Regions from separate parts of the Homo sapiens genome. Here regions 1, 2, 3, 5, 6 and 7 are each linked to region 4. Evidence: promoter capture Hi-C in 16 types of primary human blood cells and fetal thymus (Javierre and others, 2016). All regions are on one chromosome and are shown on one strand. The core of a region is centred on a gene start or on the middle of the fragment in contact, and the rest is flanking DNA. Distances in the headings are between cores, read along the strand shown.

Region 1 (3,034 bases), core at 369-2,868, 840 kb after region 4:
TTAAAATGGACTGCATGAAAAGAACTTTGACATCTTGGAACTACTTTGACATCTTTGAACTAATACTGAGTATATTGTAAGTAGTTCATCTTCTTGCTTTGAGAATATATTTATGCATCTTGCATAAATATATTTTTGCATCTCTGCAAACTTCTGATGTGTAAAAACTTCACTATTGACCACTTAACCAAAGCAGAATTCCTTGAGTGATTTAAGAACAATTTATTTTACTTCAGATATAAAATTTTTAATAGCACACTAAGGATGTTATATGAGCAGCTCTCTCCATATGATCTTCCACGAATGTCTGATGCTTTGTGAGCAACTCCGCAACAACCTACTACCTTTCACCCACTTCATAGCTAAATACTTTCATATACATTATTTTGTTGGATGGATTTCTCATAGCAGCCCTCTCAGGTAAGTCTTATTCCTCCCACACTTTATAAATGAAGAAACATAGGTCAGAGATGACTTGTCCAGGATCTCTTTGCCAAAAAATGTTAGAGCCAGGAGAGGGTACCCTTTAATTCTGGAATTTTTGTGCTTTTTGCTGTTGTTCAAGCTGTTCATTCAGGGGCTGTGCGTGTGTGAATTTGTCATGACTAATTGGATCTCATTAATCTGAAATGGAAGAGTCATGAAATGCAGATTTAGTTCTGAAATGAAAGTACACCTTCATGTGCAAATGGCTTTTCAAGAAAGAAGACTGCTTTAATAAGCAGCCTTAGCCAAAGGAATGAAAGATCAAATAGAAATGTAGGCTCAATGTGGTGGCTCACACCTGCTATCCCAGCACTTTGGGAGGCTGATACTGGAGGATTGCTTGAGACCAGGAGTTTGAGACCAGCCTGGCTAACTTAGCAAGACCCTGTCTCTACAAAAAAAACTTTTAAAAATTAGCTGGGCATGGTGGCTCAAACCCATAGTCTCAGCTACTCAGGAGGCTGAGGCAAGAGGATCACTTGAGCCCAGAAGTTTGAGGCTGCATTGAGCTATAATACGATCATGCTACCACATTCCAATCTGGACAACAGAGTGAGACCCTGTCTAAAAAAAAAAAAAAAAAAGAAAAGAAGCATAATCTAGGCATACCTTACTTATCCAGAATATTTGGAATAAGATTCTCTAGGTAAGTGAAATTTCAGATGATCAAAACTTAACCTTATAAATGATGGACCTTTACTTTTGTTTCTGTTGGAAATCTTTGGTATACTCCCTTAGCAAACAATATAGCAAACATAATGTAGGCTTTTATGAGCTCGAATTTGTTGTTTTGTAGATGTAGTTGTAGATACAGATCAGGGTTGTTAACTTGTGGTACTGGACACCTCCACATTTGAGAGGTCCTGTGAACTTCTCAAATTTTTATGATTGTATACCATTTTTGAGAGAGAGGGTCCATATTTTATATCTGCTACTCAGAGCAGTTCATGCTCTTTAAGTTAAAAAGCACTGATACAGATGATTAGGAACTAAATGGCCATTTACCCACACTACGCTGGGTTTCATAAGGGTAAACACTGGCTCTGTTTTGTTTTTACTCAGTCCTTACCACTTATTGGTGTTCAGTTCATAGTAGACAGGCAATACATATTTTTTGGATGAAGGATGCTAGGAAATATCTTGGAACATGCTGCAAATGTAAGGTGAGTTTTCACACCTGTTTTCTCCTGAAAGAATAAAATAGATATAACTTTTAGGATATTGTATCTTTCCACAGAATGATTATTAGTTCAAAGGAATGGAATGACCTTACAAGAATGTTTCTTATTGAAAGAAAGTTTTGCTCCCCTAAACTCTGTTGACTGGTCAGATTTGAAAATGAATTTGTTACCGTCATTGTTACCAATGTAATGGACTATGGGCTGCCTTCCTTTTAGTTTAACCCACATCTCAGAGCATTAGAGTAGAGAGGTATCTTAGAAGTCAGGTAATTTAGTCCTCTAATTTTTACAGATGAGGAAACTTAAGGGCCAAGAAGGGAATCAGCTTGCCAAGGACCACACAGGTACAGACCTGGGACATAGCCAGTATCCCCTGGCTCCCATTCTGATTTTATTTCTACCACATTCTGCTACCTTATTCTTTTTGTTTGTTCTTGCTAACCAAACCTAAATGAGAACGTACGCATTTTAACTACCCCCACATTTGGCTTTACTTATTGCTCCTTTCCAGGTCTTGCCAAGTATTTATTGAGTACACAATGGATGCCCTGTGTGTATACTGTGAAGGCTCTAAAATGAATGGACTGCCCCACTCCTAGGGCTGATTTATTGCAATGAACAAACAAACATATATAATATACCATTGGCTTCAAGAATTCTGAGATTCTTGAAGGCTCCATTGAAATGAAGGGGTGTGAGAGTGATGTGAGCACATGTAGGGGCGGTAATGAGTTGTGAGCACATGTAGGGGCGGTAATGAGTCTGAAAAAGGATATGAGAGAGGAAAGATTACCTTAGGGATTTTGATCAGGAGGCAATAGGAGGTAAAGTGTAGTGTTTGGAGACGTTTGAACCAAATGAATTTGGACCAAAAAAACCTTTTAGCAGGAGAAGTAACACAAGAAACATTTCTGGAAAATTAACTCAGCAACTACATACCAGTTGAATTGCTGCTACCTATGAAGATATTACAGTAACTGATGTGTGAGGTGATGATGGAAATAACGAATATATTTAGGAAGTGTCTTGAAGAAAGGATGAGTTTGGAGATACTGAGTAAGGAAGGACTTAAAGACAAGTTTTTTAATGTTGAGGACTACAGAAGTATTGCCTCATTGTCAGAAATAAGAAAGTTGGAAAAATAATCAGAAACGCCATCAAAGATTTGTGTTAGTTTGGCAGAGAAGATGGTGCATTATTGAGTAGGTTTAGGTGGCACTGAGTTATAGGTTGTGAGAGGTTGAAGACCTGAGGGCAAAGGAAGAGTAAAGTTATGGAGATAAAGATATGGGAGCAATTAGTCTGGAGTTGATTTTTAAAACAGAATGGAGGAGTCCTTCCAGAGAGTAGCACAGAATAGAAGCAAG
Region 2 (3,054 bases), core at 201-2,700, 910 kb after region 4:
ATTATTTTATGTGTCTAAGAGAAATTCTGCCTACAGTCACTAAGAAATTTTCTATTTGGTTAAGACTAAATTTCTAGAACACTCCTTTGTGACAATCCATAGATTACCAAAGCCAACTGGTGAAACTCAGCCCCTTATTATGTTGGGAAATTTTGTGGTTTTTTTTGTTTTTCTTTTTTTGTTTGTTTTGTTTTTTTTGAGACAAAGTCTTGCTCTCGTCACCCAGGCTGGAGTGCAATGACGCGATCTCGGCTCACTGTAACCTCCACCTCTCGGGTTCAAGCAATTCTCCTGCCTCAGCCTCCCAAGTAGCTGGGATTACAGACACGTACCACCATGCCCGGCTAATTTTTGTATTTTTAGTAGAGACGGGATTTCACCATGTTGGCTAGGCTGGTCTCGAACTCCTCGTGATCCACCCACCTTGGCCTCCCAAAATGTTGGGATTACAGGAGTGAGCGACATGCCCAGCCAAAAACTTTCTTTCACCTGCTTCTTTTTGTTTCATTTTTACCTGTTCCTGGACATCTTCAAACTCTGAGCTGAGCAACTCTATGAAGATGGGCACAGCTCCTGCCTGAATCACAATTCGGGTCTGAAGAGAATTTCCTGAAGCAATATTTGTCAGTACCCAAGCTGATTCAAACTATAAAGATAAAAATAATTTTCATTATCTTTTTAGAATGTAAAAGTTTGTTTACTTATAACAGTAACATTTTCTGTACATGAAAAAAAGATTCTGAGATCATTATTTGCACATAACCTATCAGTTGAGTACTATATTAATTTTAAAAGAAGAATATCCAGAAGAAATACCTCAACCTAGAAGAATATTCAGGGTGTCTAAAATTTCAGTTCAAGAAAGAGTAAACATGACACCATAAAAAGAATGAGAGAGTGTTACATATGCTGATATGGTATGATCTCCCAAGATATAAATGAAAACAAAATGCAAACAGTGTACATTAATATGGCATTATACCATATTTTCTAAAAGCGTTAAAAAGGAATATATGCATTAATTTACTTATTGCACAGATTATCTTCAGAATGAGTTAGAGGAAACTAAATACTTGTTGCCTGCATAGAAAGGTGATGGTAACTAGGGAATAAGGATGAAAAAGATACTTTTCACTGGAAAGCTTTATGTGCCTTTTAGCCTGTACCATGTATGTTATCTAATAAAAAAGATTTAAAAACTTCTGTAGAATGGGCAAAGTAAAATGGGGGGAGAATGTTAGTGTGAAACATAAAATACAGGCACAGTGAAAAAGGCAAAAGGTATCAAATGATAAGTAGGTGAAAGGAGTTAACAGCACATAATGAAAAGAAATGACAACTTCAAAGAATAAGAGCTTCCAATAAATGAGAGAGCTCCAAACCAAAATACAGAGATAGGACTTTTTGGGCATTCTTAATAGGGAGGGAAAAATGAAGGTAAACTGACTAAAGGTTGATATATAGCATTACAGCACTGGTAAACAGAAGATATAAAGGAAATTATGGCCAACAAAAAATAGAGCATATTACTAAAATATATCTCTAACACTAACTTGACTCTTTAGCTTAATATTGAGAAATCCAATAATGAACTCTTTTCTATTTAGTTAAGAGTTCTTAATTACATTTCAGGTTGTTTCTTCCACCATTCTGTCTTCTATTTAATAAAGCACATACACAGAAAAAAAGAAAAATTCCATGGCATGTCCTTTAAATCAGAGAAAATAACAAGTCGTCATCAAATGACCTGTGATTCTTCTAAGCTTCCAGATTAACTAAAAGGTAGCTGTCAGGTAGAAAACTAAATTCATTAATCTTTGGGAATAGAGGAAGACAGGAAAATGGGCCATCTGATCAAATCACGTTCAAAGCCATGTTAGTGATAGAAAATTCATAGCAGAAGACACATAACCAATGGATGTTCCAAAGAAAACTATAAAAGTGACATACATGAGTGAGGTAAGGTGGTTTAGTAGCAGCAGGGAGGCCCAGAGTAGGAGTACTTCGGTTAAAGAGCCCGTATCTGGTCCCTTTTTGTTATAACAAAAATTCTGGGGACTTACAGATTAAACCCCAGATATCATGAAATAAAAATTCTTCCCATATTTATCTCTATGATTAAATTACTAATGAAAGCAACACTCAGTCCCTTTCAGTACGTCTGAATTAAAACTTGACATTTGTACCGTACTTTATATTTTCTTTTTTTTCTTTTTTGAGACAGAGTCTCAGTCTTGTTGCCCAGGCTGGAGTGCAATGTCACGTTCTCAGCTCACTGCAACCTCCACCTCCCGGATTCAAGTGATTCTCCTGCCTCAGCCTCCCAAGTAGCTGGGATTACAGGCATGTGCCACCACGCCCGGCTAATTTTTATATTTTTAGTAGAGACGAGGTTTCATCATGTTTGTCAGGCTGGCCTTGAACTCCTGATCTCAAGTCATCCTCCCATCTAGGCCTCCCAAAGTGCTGGGATTACAAGCATGAGCCACCGCACCCGGCCACTTTATATTTTCAAAGTACTATTCACATACTCGCAGATGATCCCTACAACAACCCAGAGATGTAAAGTATCTGGCTTTTCTTGTGTACAAATGAGGAAACTATCTGAAAAAAAATCCAACAATTTGACTAATGACTCGAGTAATGTTACACAGTCAAAGACAAGGACTAAGTTACAGCCTCCTAATCTAATACATTACGAAGCCCAGTCATAGTTTCCTGAAACATAATGCTGACCCAGAAATATTTCATTTGCTTGTAGTTTGGATATCTAGTTCAAGAAATTTTAAATAACAGTATGCCAGATTATTTATACTAAAAAAGAAAAAACAAGTTCACCTAAGATGTAGTTTCTTTTGCTTACTAGGAAAATTAATTTGTAAACCAGAGTCATATGATGTAAGTATAAAAGCAAACTGTCCCACCACAAGGCAGGCTCAAAGTTCAATAAACAGTCATCAGATACTGCAAACATAAAGTCAAATAAATGAAAACTCTAAGGAAAAGCAATCTGGAAAAAAAATAAGATCAGAATACATACCATCTGTATACAAG
Region 3 (2,817 bases), core at 231-2,730, 890 kb after region 4:
AAAACTGCCAATTCTCTATACAAATAGTAAGTTTCACTTCTTTGATGAATGTTTCTCTAATTTCAGTTAATAATCCTTATCCTTCATTAAGAACATGTGTTATATATGTATTAACATTTGATTATATTCAACCTAAAATTCTAGATGTTTCCTAAAACATTCTTTTTTATCTTTTGAGACAGAGTCTCTCACTCTGTCTCCGAGGGTGGAGTGCAGTGGCACGATCTTGTCTCACTGCAACCAACCTCTGCCTCCTGGGTTCAAGCCATTTTCCCACCTCAGCCTCCCAAGTAGCTGGAACTACAGGAGAACACCAACACGCCCAGCTAATTTTTGTAGAGACAAGGTTTCTCCATGTTAGCTAGGCTGGTCTCGAACTCCTGACCTCAAGTGATTTGCTTGCCTTGTCCTCCCAAAGTGCTGGAATTACAGACATGAGCCACCACACCCGGCCAAGATATTTCCTAAAATATTCTAATTGTTTCTTGCATCCAAATCTGGTATCTGCAACAAGAAGCAGCAGAAGCCAGATAGATGTCTTTTATAAGTGATAAAGTCAGTTTGTTTTTTGTAATTTGGACTGTAATATTTTTGTGACATTCTTTCAAGATAACTCTTCATGTGGGGAAGAAGAAACTGCTAGGAGGTTGGTAATTAATTTTATTATAAATAGCTATGCTGAATTTTAAAAAGGGACAGCAGCAATTCTGCGCTTCTCTAACAGAGCAAAATACTCCTGAATACTTTCTCATGAAAGATGGCATAATAAAATATATATGTTTATGGTTTATTTCTTCTTCTTCTTTTTTTTTTTTTGTTGAAATGGAGTCTCACTCTGTCACCCAGGCTGGAGTGCAGTGGCATGATCTCAGCTCACTGCAACCTCTGCCTCCCGGGTTCAAGCGATTCTCCAGTCTCAGCCCCACAAGTAGCTGGGATTACGGGTGCACGCCACCACACCTGGCTAATTTTTGTACTTTTAGTAGACACGGGGTTTCACCCTGTTGGCCAGGCTGGTCTCGAACTCCTGACCTTGTGATCCACCTGCCTTGGCCTCCCAAAGTGGTGGGATTACAGACATGAGCCGCTGCACCCGGCCTGGCTTATTTCAATTAAGAAAATATATTTGCTATAAAATATAGAGACAATTAATAACTATAAATGTGAATTTGAACATAAAGCTTATTCAAATAACTATAGTACTTCATTATTTTTACCATCTGGTGACAGCATAATTAAAATCATAGTACTCTAGAATCAGAATTTTGGAGGTTGGAAAAAACCTACAAGACAAATGTGCTTCTGTCTCCCTGAAATAACCTGCCCATGATGAACTTCACCAAAATAGCTACTGCATATGTTAATCTGTTTGTAATTTTATTCTTTCAGGTACATATTTCTTATTTTCTCTACCTGATAAATTTCTGTACTTTGTTACTATTTTTATTTTTTAATTCCAAACAGAACACTCAAAACTAGCATCTGATGAATGCCTACATTCAGTCCACAAAGCAACAATGTAAGTAGTAGCTATGTTTGTCTGATATTACGTATGAGTAAGGAGTTAATGCTTTAGCACTCATTTGAAACCATCTTTCCTTAATTTTGGATTCCCCATAAAGTTAAGACTGGCTGAGTCTAGGCTAGGCTCCATTTTTCTCTTCATCATTACTTTTTTTCCCTATCTGAAATACTAGATGTCCTGAATTTTGCATTTAATTATATGATGCTCCTTTGAAGAACTGATTCCCATCCATATTTATGTTTTCTTCCACTCATTAAGCTTATAAGCTGCTCGTCGGGCATGATGGCTCACACCTGTAATTCCAGCACTCTGGGAGGCCAAGGCAGGTGGATCGCCGGAGCTCCGGAATTCAAGATCAGCCTGGCCAACAGGGGAAAACTCCGTTTCTACTAAAAATACAAAAATTAGCTGGGTGTGGTGGCACTCACCTGTAATCCTAGCTACTAGGAAGGCTGAGGCAGGAGAATCGCTTGAACCCAGGAGGCGGAGGTTGCAGTGAGCCGACAGTGCCACTGCACTCCAGCCTGGGCAACAGAGAGACTCCATCTCAATCAGTCAATCACTAAGCTGCTACCAAGGGAGCCATTTAAGTCTTGAGCTGCTACAGCTCCTCCCTTTAACAAGAATACCATAGTACTTTAGAAGATACCTGCCTCTACTAAATTTGGCACTTCATTCTCAGACATACCACTCTTTCAATTCTGATCCAATTCTACTATTAAGACATCTAAACTAAAAAGGGCAAGAGTGAGTTATTAAACTTGGGCTCAAGTTCTACAAGTAACCTATATTACCCAAGATATTTCTGACAAGTAGCTCCAGAGTAGGTTGAAGCAAGGATTTCTATTGCCTCAAGCCTCGACTATGCCTACTTCTTATATCCCAGGATTGTTTTTCAGCAAAAAGAAATGGGAGAGTTATAAAGAATTAAATACACATCTAATTATGACACCAAGGACAATTTCCTAAGGACTGGAACTAAACATTCTTATTTGGTAAGATCGTCTCTCACTTACTTTTCCCCTCAAAGGCAGCTAATCTTTTACTCTAGGTAATATGTGGGAGGTTATAAAGTGATAGACACAATAATAATTTTTCTTTAACTTACAATATGCTGCCTGATTGGTACTTACTTGATCTGTTCAGCTGATCCTCCAGAAGTTGCATTTGTGATGGCCCAAGCTGCTTCTTTTCTTGTCCGAAATTCAGCAGTTTGTAAAATACTAATGAGGGCTGGGAAAATGTTGGCATCTATCACAGTCTAAAATTAAAGAAAAACTTAAATGGAAAAA
Region 4 (2,860 bases), core at 141-2,640:
ATTGTACGATTTTCTCTAGTTATAAAGCACTGCCTCATTCACCTTTTAAACGAACCACAACTACCTCAATAGAGTATTCTTTACATTCATATCTTAAAAATAGTAATTAGTTTACATAAATTTGGATACCTGAATAAACTAAATTCTTTCCTTCCAGGACTTGTCCAAGCAAAAGGCACTCTGCCTGCCATTCAAACATCTTTTTTACACCAAAACTGTGGTATTTTTCCAGAACTGCTTTAGGAAGTCCCCAGTTTGCCAATAGTAGCTTGTCTCTTTCGTAGTCAGGAACTGTAGGCTTGCATTCTCCTTTTAGGAAAAAGAAAAAATTAAAATTTAATTTACTTCTAATATATGAGTTTTACAGTTAGCCCTTCACCGTGTGTTGGAATTCCTATGTGTTGAAATGAAGCTCTTTAAAGCACATCCTGACTTCAAGAATCTTATGAGAAATTGACCATGTATAGAAAAGTAATAAATTGTTATTTACTGCATATAATAAAAATTCCTTAAAAGCCTCAAACGAACAAAAAAGCGTGCAATACACAGTAGATAAAGAGTGTTGGAATTACGGGTGTAGTTGGGGGAGGAGGGCAATATGCAAGCATTACAAAGCTAAGTTAGGTGAGTTTCTATTTATAGTAAGTTTTAGTTCCATGACGACTGCACAACTAACGATTTTAAAAAACTGGGTCGACATCCACGGGACACCCAACCAATCTCATTACGAATCCCTTCCAGCCTTCCCCTGGACGCCGAACAGCCTGTGCCGTACTCCAGGCCCAACAATCCTGTCTTAAGGGTCTGTAAGGAGTACTGGGTACTACCAGGAACGAGCCGCCCAACAGATGATGGGATGAAGCTAACTAGGAAGTTGTTTCTCTAAAGGTCGAAAGATCCAGAAGCCACGTGAACATTAATACCAGGCGATCACTGAAAACACGCGTATGTCTGAACAGAAAGTGACCTGCCACACCAGGCCCCAGTCACAGAGAAGGGGAGTAGAAGCCCAATGGGGTATGCAACGAAGCAAGTCCCGTGGGGTGAGGACACCTCCCGACCCATGGCCCGGCGGAGCTGCCCCCGTTGCCCGCGGCCTCCCGGGTTCCTGGAGCACCTGCAGCTGCGGCCTTCAGGCAGCGACCAAGGCCGGGCGGCGGGCTCAGCACGGACCCGGAGAGGAACTGGGGGCTGGCACTGCTGTCACCGCCGCTTCCCGAGAACGAATCTGAGCCTGATTCTGAACGCCGCCGTTTCCCACTCCGACGCAGAAGATTCATGGCAAACTCTTCTCGGCCGATCAGGGCAAGCCACAGTCCCAGCGTCCTCCCTCTCGGGAGAACCCTGGCCTGGCAACAGCTGCGGACATCTTCCCGCCAGTCTTCAAACTCAAACCTCCCGGCCCGCCCCGGAACCATAGAGTTCTCCGTGGCTTAAGTAACCCGAAAGCCATAGACTCGTGGGGAAGGAGCGGCTCTCGCTGGCGTCTAAGACTTCCGGCCTCCAACCTCCTGGTTGGTTAATATGAGAGATAGATTAAAGAGGAAGAATACAGAATCTACAGTTATAACCATACTGACCTAAAAGCCTTCCTTCTCCTTTTGTCCATTTCTGGTTTGAATAGGAAGGCCATGCTAACTTCATAAAATGGGCTGCCCATAATAGGTAGATCAGGGAAGTAGCTCTTCTTAACGTATTGGTATTCTGTAAAAAATTATTTCAGATTGAGAAGCATTATGCAAGATAGCCTAGGGTTTCTAATAGAGCATAATTTCCTCCTTTCTCCTAGTATATGATGGTAGGGCAGGGCTATTTCTGAACACAATTTCCATTTTAGCCAGCATGCATTGTGAGGAATATGTAATGAGGAATTGGGGATTGCTGGCTGACAGACCCCTGAGACACTATATGAACGCCGCGAGGAAGGGGCTCTGAATATACCCCAGGGATCGTTATGAGCCAAGAGCTTAGTAATGCATCTGTGTTGTCCCTTTTGTAAAGGTAGAAGCGAACGAGTTCTGAACGTAAAACGGTGACCATTCATTACCTAGTTGCATAATTCATTTCACCAAGCAAAACTAGTAGGCCCTAAGCCTGACCTGAAGAGGCTGTGCAGTTCTAGAGCACTAAAAATCTCAAAAGGTCCAGTCCAATTAAAAAAAAAAAAAACACTCGAATACAATCTGGAAAATAGCATTCGAACCATCAATTCCTTCCGTGAAAACATTTTTTTGATTTAAATGACAATATTCTAAAGTTCCACGAGATGGCGACATTACTCCGTGAATGAAACATTTTTCTCTTGGCCTTTTACGCAATCAACAACTATTTACTGAGTATCTACTGTAAGCTAGCCACTGGGTAAATGGCAGTGAAATGGCATAAAATGGTTCCTGCTCTCAAAGAGAAAGAGTCTAGAGAATAAGGCAGACATTAAACAAGTCAGTTAATGAAGTGTGCCATATGCTTGGGCAGAAATGAAGAGTACTATTAAAGAAATAAAAGAGATCTCGCCGGCCGTGGTGGCTCACGCCTGTAATCCCAGCACTTTGGGAGGCCGAGATGAGTGCATCACCTGAGGTCAGGAGCTCTAGACCAGCCTGGCCAACATGGTGAAACCCCGTCTCTACAAAAATACAAAAAATTAGCCGGGTATGATGGCGGGTGCCTGTAATCCCAGCTACTCTGGAGGCTGAGGCGGGAGAATTGCTTGAACCTGGGAGGCGGTGGTTGTAGTGAGCCGAGATCGCACCACTGCACTCCAACCTGTGCGACAAAGAAAGACTCCGTCTCAAAAAAAGAAAAAAAAAAAAAAGAGAGAGAGACCCCTAGATTGCAGCCAAGAAAGAACTTTCTCAGA
Region 5 (3,156 bases), core at 185-2,684, 970 kb after region 4:
GCTAGTTAAGACAAAAACAATGTCGAGAATGAGCCTTGCTGGTGGCATCCGCCTGTAGTTCCAGCTAGTAGGGAGGATGCCTTGAGGCCAGGAGTTCCAGATCAGCCCGGGAAACAAAGCAAGACTCCATCTCTTAAGAAAAAAAAAAACAAAACAGGAGGGGGGAAATCACTTCATCTACTAATAGAGATTTTTAAGCAACCGTTTATTTAAGAAAAAAGGGTGAAATTCAAGTTAATATTACTTGACAGTACGTTTCAGAAAAAAAAATACTCTGCAGAGCTGGGTGTGGTTGCCCAAGACTAGTCCCAGCTACTTGGGAAGCTGAGGCAAGAGGACAGTTTGAGCTCAGGAGTTGGAGTACAGCCTGGGCAATATAGCGAGACCCCATCTCTTTAAAATACAAACAAAAACTCGGCAATCGTTTGTTCTGAGTTGAAACCTTAAAAATCAAATATTTTGAACGCTTTCATTTAAAAGTGGAACACGACCCAATCCTAAAACATTACTTCATGACGACTTCCTTGACTCCAGTCATCCTTGTTTCCTCCTCCCGTTTTGAGCTTAATCCGATACCTCGCTGCTTCCCTCGCATCGCACACGCGGCGTGCAGACCAAGTTCTGTCATTGCTATAATTACCACACCCCCGATCAGCCGCTCCAGGCCCATGTTGTTATGACATCGGTAAACTGCAGCCGGCCGTCTCCACCCCCCGCTTCCCCCACCTCCCTCCGGGCCGCCGGCTCCGACCCGGTCTGTAACTTGTGAATTCCCAAGACGGTCCCTTTTTGCCAGGGTTAGAATTTTTACACGCCACCCCTGCTCCTTCCTGCCTCTGTCACAGCGCTCTGCGCGGCCCACCCCCGCCTCCCGCCCGCCGCCCGGCCGCGGCGCAGGCTCCGCGCTCGCCTCCTCTCCGCCCGCTGCCTCGGCGCCCCGCAGTCCCCGGCGCCGCTTACAGCCCCGCCGCCGCGCCACGCCGCCCCGCCCCGCCTAGCCTCGACCGGCGTTCCCGATGGCGATCACACCAGGGCTCCCCACCCCCACCCTCTCCTCCGCCGGCCTTGTGGCCGTTAGGACAGCCGGGCCCGTGACGCACGGACGCGGCGCGAGCGTCCGGCCCAGGAACCCCGGCTCTAGGCCCTGCCGGCACCCGCCCTCGCCCCAGGGCCTCTCCTGAGTCCCTCCGGGACTGCCCGGATCTGCCGGCGGGAGGGGGAGGGGCCGGGGCCGCAAGGCCCCAGCACTCACCAGGCTCAAGGCAACCGATCCCGGTGCCACCGCTGAAGTTAGCCCCTCGCTCGCCCGCCCGCCGTGCCACTCCCGCGCACAACCTCGAAGAGCTGGCCCGCGCCTCGGCGGTGCTCACCAGGCCTCGCTCTCCGCCGCCTCGCACCGAGCAGCGAGACTCAGCTCAGCCGGCGTTCGCAGTGCGCCTGCGTGCGGGGGCCGGCCCGAGCGCCTACGCGCGCCCCTCCGGCGCTTGTCGCAGAGGCTGCCGGGAGACGTAGTCTTGTAACGCTCTCTCGCCGGACATTCCTAATGGTTAGCGCCCAGCCTGTGAAGAGTCGGGGGTCGGGGAGGGGGTCTCGCTAAGAAGGAGGTTTGCAGACCATGGCAAAGGTTGGAGAAAGTTATATGTACAAACCTGTCTTTGCTAAGCTCTTCCAGGGCGGATCGATGCTCACCTCTGTATAGCTTCTAAGTACCTAATACGCGTTGATGGAATGAATGATGGAATGATTGAAGGCTGAGGGAGTATTACAAAATTAGTAGGTCAGCGCCTCGTGTCTAAAGGGCTCACATGCAGCATGAATGCAGGAAGCTTCTGGACATTCCTTTTTTAGTTATCTCCCATCCCCTTTGCTTGATAACGTATGCGTAGTATCAAAAATAATTAAGGGCCGGGCGCGGTGGCTCACACCTGTAATCCCAGCACCTTGGGAGGCCGAGGTGGGTGGATCACTTGAGGCTAGGAGTTTTGAGACTAGCCTGGGCAACATGGCGAAACCCCGTCTCTACTAAAAACACAAAAATTAGCAGGGGGTGGTGACGGGCGCCTGAAGTCCCAGCTACTCGGGAGGCTGAGGTGGGAGAATCACCTGAGCCCGGGGTTGACGGTGAGACTGCAGTGAGCCGAGATCGCGCCACTACACTCCAGCCTGGGCAACCGGAGTGAGACCCTGCCTCAAAAATAATAATAACAATAATAATAATAATAATAATGAAACTACATGAAACACATACTCGTTTTACTCTCAACTGCTCTCAAACGAAAACTTGGAGCAAATGATTGCTAATGTTAAATTTCATGGAATTCTTTGGGGGAGCAAATGGAGTAGTGGCTTCAAAAGAAGAAAAACTGAAGCCAGCCTAGCAGGGATCACGGAATAGTAGACAGATTTAAAACACATGCCAAGAAGCAAGGTGAAAGAGATGAGGTAGATTAATACATTTATAAATGTCCCAGGGAAGAGGAGAGGAGAGAGGACCACTCTACCTGAATCCTAGGTTATGCAATGTTCATTTGTCCTGGACTTCTCTCTGCTGCATCAGCATTCTCCCGCTGATGTTGTGTTTACTAAGATCAGAGTTGAGTTTGAGCAAGGGGGCTGGGGAAAGGGAAGGTGTGTTCAACAGGAGAGACTTAAGGGCAAGTTTGCCTGACCACAGCTAGACTGAAGACAGATCACCTTATTCCAATAAGGAACTAAGACTGATTATTCAGAGCCGGTCTTCAGTCTTTGGGAAAGCTAATTTATTTCCGGTTCACCCTTATTCCTAGCTAGTCCTTGATGGTCCCATCCAAAAGTCTGGGGTATTTACTAGGGCCTCTTCTCTTTGGTGGGCCTTCTAAGCCCCATGAGACAGCCATAAGCTCTTCTCCCTGTTTCAGCCACTGCTTTCAGAGTCAGCAATCACCTTAGCTTTGGAAAAATGATGGCAAATATCAGGCTAACCTCTGGTGGCTTCCTTTTTCTTCCAGACCTTGCACTCACAAATTCTCACTTCCTTGGTAGCTCTTCAGTACATTAACGTTTTTATATTTTGTTCAGTTGTTCTCTGTAGTGGAAAGGTTGATTGAAAACAACAGTAGGCCATTGCTGGAAGTTGAATTCCTATGTATGTTACTTTTACAAAAATGTTATCATACC
Region 6 (3,160 bases), core at 92-2,591, 930 kb after region 4:
GGGAGGCAGAGGTTGCAGTGAGCCAAGATTGCACCACTACACTTCAGCCTAGGTAACAGCGAGACTCTGTCTCAAAAAAATAAAAATAAAAAAAGAATACTATGAACAATTCTATTTCCACAAATTTGATCACCTAGATAAAATGAACCACTTCCCTGAAAGCCACAAACTACCAAAACTCACACAAGAAACAATCTGAATAGGCCTGTATTAAAGAAACTGAACCAATCAACCTTCCAAAACAGAAAACACCAGGACTAGATGGGTTTGCTGGTGAATTTTATAAAACATTTAGGAAAGAAATTATACCCATTCTGTACCATCTCCTACACAAGATAGAAGCAGAAGGAATACTTCCTAACTCATTCAGTAGAGGCCAACATCAGAGTATTCCAAAACTTGACAAATATACATTATAACAAAACTACAGACCAACATTTTTTATGAACACAGGTGCAAAATCCTCAACAAAACATTAGCAAAACAAACCCAACAATGTATAAAACGAATCATATACCATGATCAAGTGGGATTTATCCCAGGTGTAAATTACTGGTCCAACATTTGAAAATCATTAATAAAATCCATCACATCAACAGACTAAGGAAGAAAAATCACACACCCATATCAATAGATGCAGAAGAAGCATATGAAAAAAAATCCAACACCCATTCACGATTTTAAAAATTCTCATTCCTCAACTTGACAAGGAATATCCAGAAAAAAACCTACAGCTAACATCATACTTAAATGGTATGAAACTAGAAGCTTCTCTGCTAAGATCAGGAGCAAGACAAGGAGATTTCCTCTCACTACTCCTTTTCAACATTGTATTGCAAGTCCTAATGAATGCAGTAAGACAAGAAAAGGGAAAAAGGCATGCTGATGGGAACAGAAGAAATAAAACCATCTTTTTTTCTCTGATGACACAGTCGTCCACATGGAGAATTCAAAAGAATCAATAAAAAAACCTCTGGAACTAATAAGCAATTATAGCAAGGTTACATGACAGAAGGTTAATATACAAAATTCAACTGCTTTCCTATACACCAGCAATGAATAAAGGGAATTTGAAATTAAAAAGTGTCATTTACATTACACTCCCCAAAAAACAGAATACTTAGGTATGAATCTAACAAAACATATACGAGATTTCTATGAGGAAAACTACAAAACTCTGATGAAACAAATCAAAGACCTAAATAACTGGAGAGGTATTATTCCTATCTATAAAGAAAGACTCAACATTGGCAAGATGTCAGTGCTTCCCAACTAGACCTATAGATTCAATGCAATTACAATCCCAGAAAGTTATTTTCTATCACCAAGATGATTCTAAAATGTATATGGAAAGGAAAAAGATCCAAAATAGCCAACAAAATATTGAAGGAAAAGGACAAAGTTAGAGGAATGACTCTACCCAACTTCAAGATTTATCGTAAGCAAGACAGCATGGTATTGGCAAAAGACTAGACAAACAGATCAATGAAACAGAATAGAGAGCCCAGAAATAGACCTCATAAATCTAGTACAATGATCTTCAACAAAGAAAAGGATAAAATACAATGGTGCAAAGGTAGTCTTTTCAATAAACGGTGCTGGAGTTCAACGAAACACTAACAAAATTCAACAAACAGCACATTAAAAAGATCATTCAATATGAACATGTAGGATTTACCTCAGGGATACAAGGATGGTTCAACATACGCAAATCTATGAATGTGAATCACATTAACAGAATGAAGGACAAAAACCTATGATCATCTCAATAGATGCAGAAAAAGCATGAGACAAATTTCAACATCCTTTCATAAAAACTCTCAACAAATTAGGTATAGAAAGAATTTACCTCCACACAATAAAGGCCATATATGACAAACCAACAGTTAGCATCATACTAAACAGTGAAAAGTTGAAAGCTTTTCCTCTAAGATCAGAAACAAGACAAGGATGCCCACTCTTGCCATCTTCACTCAATATGGTGTTGGAAGTCCTAGCCAGAGCAATTAGGCAAGAGAAAGAAATAAAAGGCATCTAAATTAAAAAGGAAGAAATGAAATTGTCCCTGATTGCTGAAGACATATCTTACATGGAAAGAACTCTGAAGACTCCGCCAATAAACTGTTAGAAATAATACATGGATTCAGGAAAGTTGTAGGATATAAAATCAATAAACAAAAACGTGTAGCATTTCCATACACTAACAACAAACTATCTGAAAAAGAAATTAAGAAAACAATCCCATTTACAATGGCTACAAAAATAAAATAAAATACTTAGGAATAAATTTAGCCAAGGAGGTGAAAGACCTGTACATTAAAAACTACATAAAACACAGATGAAACAAATTGAAATAAATGAATGGAAAGATATTCTTATGTTCATGAATTAGAAGAACAGTATTAACATGTTCATACTAACCAAAGCTATCTACAGATTCAATGTAACTTCCATCAAAATTCCAATGACATTTCTCACAGAAATTTTTTAAAATCCTAAAATTCATATGGACCTACAAAAGACCCCAAATAGCCAAAGCAATCTGGAGCAAAAATGAACAGAGGAGGAGGCTTCACACTGACTGATTTCAAAATACAATTGACCCTTAAATGACACAGGCGTTAGGGAAGCCAATCCCCTACGCAGTCAAAAACCTACATATAACTTTTAACTCCCCCACAGCCTAACTACAAATATGCTACCATTGACTGGAAGCCTTATCAATGACTTAAACACTAAATTAACACATTTTGCATGATATATGTATTATATGCTGTATTTTTTACAATAAAGTAAGCTACAGAAAAGAAAATGTTATTTAGAAAATCATAAGGAAGAGAAAATATAGTTACAATTCATAAAGTGGAAGTGGATCATCATAAGGGCCTTCATCTTCTCATCTTCAAGTTGAGTAAGCTGAGGAGGAGGGAAGAGGAAGGGTTGGTCTTGCTGTCTCAGAAGTGGCAAAGGCAGGGGAAAATCTGCATATAAGTGGACCCAAGCAGTTCAAGACCTTATTCAAGGGTCAACTGTATGTTACACACTATAGTAATCAAAACAGCAAGGTCTTGGCATGAAAACGAACACATAAAGCAATGGAATAGAATAAACAGCCCAGAAATAAATCCACACATTTATGATTAATTGATTTTTCTACAAA
Region 7 (2,921 bases), core at 249-2,748, 870 kb after region 4:
GTTTTGTCATTTTCTAATGCTGCTGATGCGATGAGGTTTTCTGTAGGATGACAAGCTGCTGAGATCACAACATCTGTATGGCCTTGTAATTTCTGCACAATCTCTTTAGTCTGAAGGTTCCAAATGTAAACCAGGTTATCCTCGGAACCAGACACAATCCACTTTCCACCAGTAACTGAAAAATTGGCAAATATGCAATATTTCTCATTCTTATGACCAGTGTATGTTTTCAGGCACCTGCCTCTGCTATAATCCCATAGTTTAAGAGTGTTGTCCAAAGTTGCAGTGAGAATGTATTTACCATTTGGAGAAAATTTTACAAAAGAGACAGGAGGGTTATCGTCATCAACGAGCGTTTTTAAACACTGACCTGATGCAGCATCCCAGATTCTACAGAGGCCATCATAGCTACCTGACACTATCAAGGACCCACTACAATTAAAATGAACAGCAGAAACTGGGTCAGAATGAGCAGACAAAGTCTTGAGACACTTTCCTGTTTTCACCTCCCATATTTTTACAGTCTCATCAAAAGATCCCGAGATTATAAGGTTGGATGGCGGATTGAAGTTACAACAAAAGACATAATTACTGTGCCCCTTCAGTGTTTTCAAACATTTTCCAGATCTCACATCCCATAATTTTAGAGTTTTATCATCTGAGGCAGAAACAAGACGACTGGAATCTGATGACCAGGCAACATCCGATATTTCCAAATTATGACCATAGAGTGTTTTCTCATATTTTCCATCATATGCTCCCCAAATTATGATTAGCCTATCAGCAGAAGAACTTGCTAGCCATTCTCCATTAGGACTAAACTTAACTGATGACACTGCTTCCGTGTGTCCCACAAGAGTACATTTGAGAGCATAGTTTGGGTTTTCAGGCACTTCCTTGCTCTGATTGGCCGATGAGGAGAGGGCCAACTGTGCTTTGGCGTCTCTTGACTCCTTGGTTGCCATGGCTCTGAAGCTCCAAGTTAGCAGGTGTACTAGGCGTTCAGCCCTGAACCAGGCAGTCCAGTACTTTGGCTTTCTGCCCAGCAAAATGAAGATAAACGCACAGGATTTTAAAATGTACAGTTTTGAAAGCTTAAAGTTTCTGGACAGTCTTTAAACTGTGAGACGGAATCAGCAGCACGGCTTGGACTTCAAGTTTTCATCTTTTTGTTAAGTACTTGAGAAATACTGTTAGAAGGATCCTGTGCGCTGTCAGCAAGTAGGACACAAATGTTCGGCATTCCGTTAATACATAAAGCCTTCAAAGCAGGGGCGACGCGAGGGGCACTCTCTACAGAAAGTATTCTTTCACCGCCGCCCCCCTCCCCAGGTCGAAATGTTTCGGAATGCTGAGCAGCCCTACCAGTCAGGCTAGGTACTTGAAGATGAATGAACCGCCGCTTTTAGCGGATTTCAGAAGCTAAAAGCCTACGAAGCCACCGAAACTGGAAACTCTGGCCTGTCGGCTACTTTTGCTCGTACCAGCAGGTGTGCACTGCCGCGTCAATCTCCAACAAAGCCGGAAAAGCAGCCTGGCGCATGTGCAAAGGAAGTCCCTCCTACCACTACCGAGCCGAGATGACCAATGGGAGACGGCCATCTGCGCCTGCGCAAAAAAGTCGCCAATGTTCATTTCCGGTCTTTTTCGCCCCGCCCTTCAAATGCGAAAGCGACTGCCTTCTTGGGTGAGTGCATTAGCTGGGTAGGGTCTGTCCCGGACCTAACTGGATAGTGTGGGAAGCAGTGGATCGTTGTTTCAAAAACCATTTCTTTTTGGAAATTGTCACAGAGAAGGACTAGATTTGCGGATGCCTACCTTAGCTGCAGGCTTAGGCCCACACCTGACGCGTAAGCTGCCTAAACGGCAGCTAACGTAGATCCACCCAGACGCCGGAAACGGGGGAAGCTCCTGCTTTGCATGGGTTCCGCTCCCTCCTGTTTGTTGTGGTGTGGAGCCAGGTGGCATGTGTGGCGATGGAGTCACGGGGCGGGTGACAGAATTTATGCCAGATTGTAAAATTCCTGGTTTAAGTTTCCCCTGGAAAAGTTTCGTAAAGGTTAAGAAACGTGTCTGTTGAGGTCCTTTAAAAGCCGGTGCTCTGCTGGGAGTAACGAGCAAACGTTTGTTTTAGCATCTACGGCTTAAGCTTCCATAGAGAAGTCGGTATCTCAAAGTTGCTTGAAACAGAAAAGGACAAAGAGGTTGGTGGAATAGGGTAACGGATAAGGTTACTCTTAAGGAGGTTTTAGAGAGCTTTCCCCAGTTTTAGGAGATGATTAATGGTCATGAAAGTGTGTAAAATATACATGCTATTGAAGTTGCAACGAAAGACATAATTACTGTGCCCCTTTAGTGTTTTCAAACATTTTCCAGATCTCACATCCTATAATTTTAGAGTTTTATCATCTGAGGCAGAAACAAGACGACTGGAATCTGATGACCAGGCAGACTTTTAAACAATAGGTTTACCAAAAAACTGGAAGCCCTACTAGTTTCTCCAACCTGTTGTTGCTCAGTAAAGAGTGCCCGAGGCCGAGCACTCACGCCTGTAATCCCAGCACTTTGGGAGGCCCAGTCGGGCGGGACACTTTAGGTCGGGTGTCCGAGACCAGCCTGACCAACATGGCGCAACCAATACTGCTAAAAATACAAAAATTAGCTGCGCGTGATGGCGCACGCCTGTAGTCCCAGCTACTCAGGAGGCTGAGGTGGGAGAATGGCATGAACCAGGAGGTGGAGGGTGCAGTAAGCTGAGATTCCACCAGTGCACTCCAGCCTGGGCAACAGTGAGACTCCGTCTCAAAAAAAAAAAAAAAAAGAGTGCCCAAGAAAAGCAGAAAAAACGTGGCTTAAAAGATTTTACTGGTGGCTGGTCACGATGCAAATGTCTCATCAGCGTCAAGAATTTAAAAGCACTT

The links. The method cuts DNA at HindIII sites, captures the fragments that hold promoters and counts their contacts. A CHiCAGO score of 5 or more calls a contact.
Region 1: a fragment that was not itself captured here is called in contact with the fragment with the promoter of POLQ in region 4 in 4 of 17 cell types (fetal thymus, total CD8 T cells, non-activated CD4 T cells and 1 more); the score reaches 7.8 in fetal thymus.
Region 2: a contact is called between a fragment that was not itself captured here and the fragment with the promoter of POLQ in region 4, in 1 of 17 cell types (monocytes). The highest score is 5.3, in monocytes.
Region 3: a contact is called between a fragment that was not itself captured here and the fragment with the promoter of POLQ in region 4, in 1 of 17 cell types (monocytes). The highest score is 5.4, in monocytes.
Region 5: a contact is called between the fragment with the promoter of KPNA1 here and the fragment with the promoter of POLQ in region 4, in 5 of 17 cell types (naive CD4 T cells, total CD8 T cells, total CD4 T cells and 2 more). The highest score is 8.0, in naive CD4 T cells.
Region 6: a contact is called between a fragment that was not itself captured here and the fragment with the promoter of POLQ in region 4, in 1 of 17 cell types (naive B cells). The highest score is 5.1, in naive B cells.
Region 7: the fragment with the promoter of WDR5B here is called in contact with the fragment with the promoter of POLQ in region 4 in 9 of 17 cell types (fetal thymus, naive CD8 T cells, neutrophils and 6 more); the score reaches 10.9 in fetal thymus.

What each region holds. Positions count from the first base shown.
Region 1 is chr3:122,385,505-122,388,538 of GRCh38, forward strand. The region is part of intron 1 of FAM162A (family with sequence similarity 162 member A); the gene reads left to right. Among named protein-coding and RNA genes, the nearest start is that of FAM162A, 2.8 kb to the left of the region's middle. The HindIII fragment of the contact is 3,328 bases long and covers 1-3,034 here.
Region 2 is chr3:122,453,356-122,456,409 of GRCh38, forward strand. It overlaps KPNA1 (karyopherin subunit alpha 1), which reads right to left. Exons shown (of 14, transcript NM_002264.4): 6 at 515-646. Among named protein-coding and RNA genes, the nearest start is that of WDR5B-DT, 39 kb to the left of the region's middle. The HindIII fragment of the contact is 621 bases long and covers 1,141-1,761 here.
Region 3 is chr3:122,431,003-122,433,819 of GRCh38, forward strand. KPNA1 (karyopherin subunit alpha 1) reads right to left here. Exons shown (of 14, transcript NM_002264.4): 12 at 2,659-2,786. It overlaps WDR5B-DT (WDR5B divergent transcript), which reads left to right. Exons shown (of 3, transcript NR_125405.1): 2 at 1,465-1,519. Among named protein-coding and RNA genes, the nearest start is that of WDR5B-DT, 16 kb to the left of the region's middle. The HindIII fragment of the contact is 602 bases long and covers 1,180-1,781 here.
Region 4 is chr3:121,544,598-121,547,457 of GRCh38, forward strand. It overlaps POLQ (DNA polymerase theta), which reads right to left and starts at 1,391. Exons shown (of 30, transcript NM_199420.4): 1 at 1,118-1,391; 2 at 130-309. The coding sequence starts at 1,280. RefSeq lists enhancers at 1,124-1,353, 1,245-1,539. The HindIII fragment of the contact is 11,524 bases long and covers 1-2,860 here.
Region 5 is chr3:122,513,505-122,516,660 of GRCh38, forward strand. KPNA1 (karyopherin subunit alpha 1) reads right to left here and starts at 1,435. Exons shown (of 14, transcript NM_002264.4): 1 at 1,253-1,435. LOC107984000 (a long non-coding RNA gene) reads left to right here and starts at 1,525. Exons shown (of 2, transcript XR_924403.3): 1 at 1,525-1,624. RefSeq lists a silencer at 713-1,402. The HindIII fragment of the contact is 3,104 bases long and covers 1-1,824 here.
Region 6 is chr3:122,473,006-122,476,165 of GRCh38, forward strand. The region is part of intron 2 of KPNA1 (karyopherin subunit alpha 1); the gene reads right to left. Among named protein-coding and RNA genes, the nearest start is that of KPNA1, 40 kb to the right of the region's middle. The HindIII fragment of the contact is 1,151 bases long and covers 767-1,917 here.
Region 7 is chr3:122,414,564-122,417,484 of GRCh38, forward strand. It overlaps WDR5B (WD repeat domain 5B), which reads right to left and starts at 1,499. Exons shown (of 1, transcript NM_019069.4): 1 at 1-1,499. The coding sequence starts at 965. It overlaps WDR5B-DT (WDR5B divergent transcript), which reads left to right and starts at 1,643. Exons shown (of 3, transcript NR_125405.1): 1 at 1,643-1,687. RefSeq lists enhancers at 1,044-1,243, 1,479-2,296, 1,514-1,753, 1,784-1,833, 1,994-2,193 and 1 more. The HindIII fragment of the contact is 1,055 bases long and covers 1,093-2,147 here.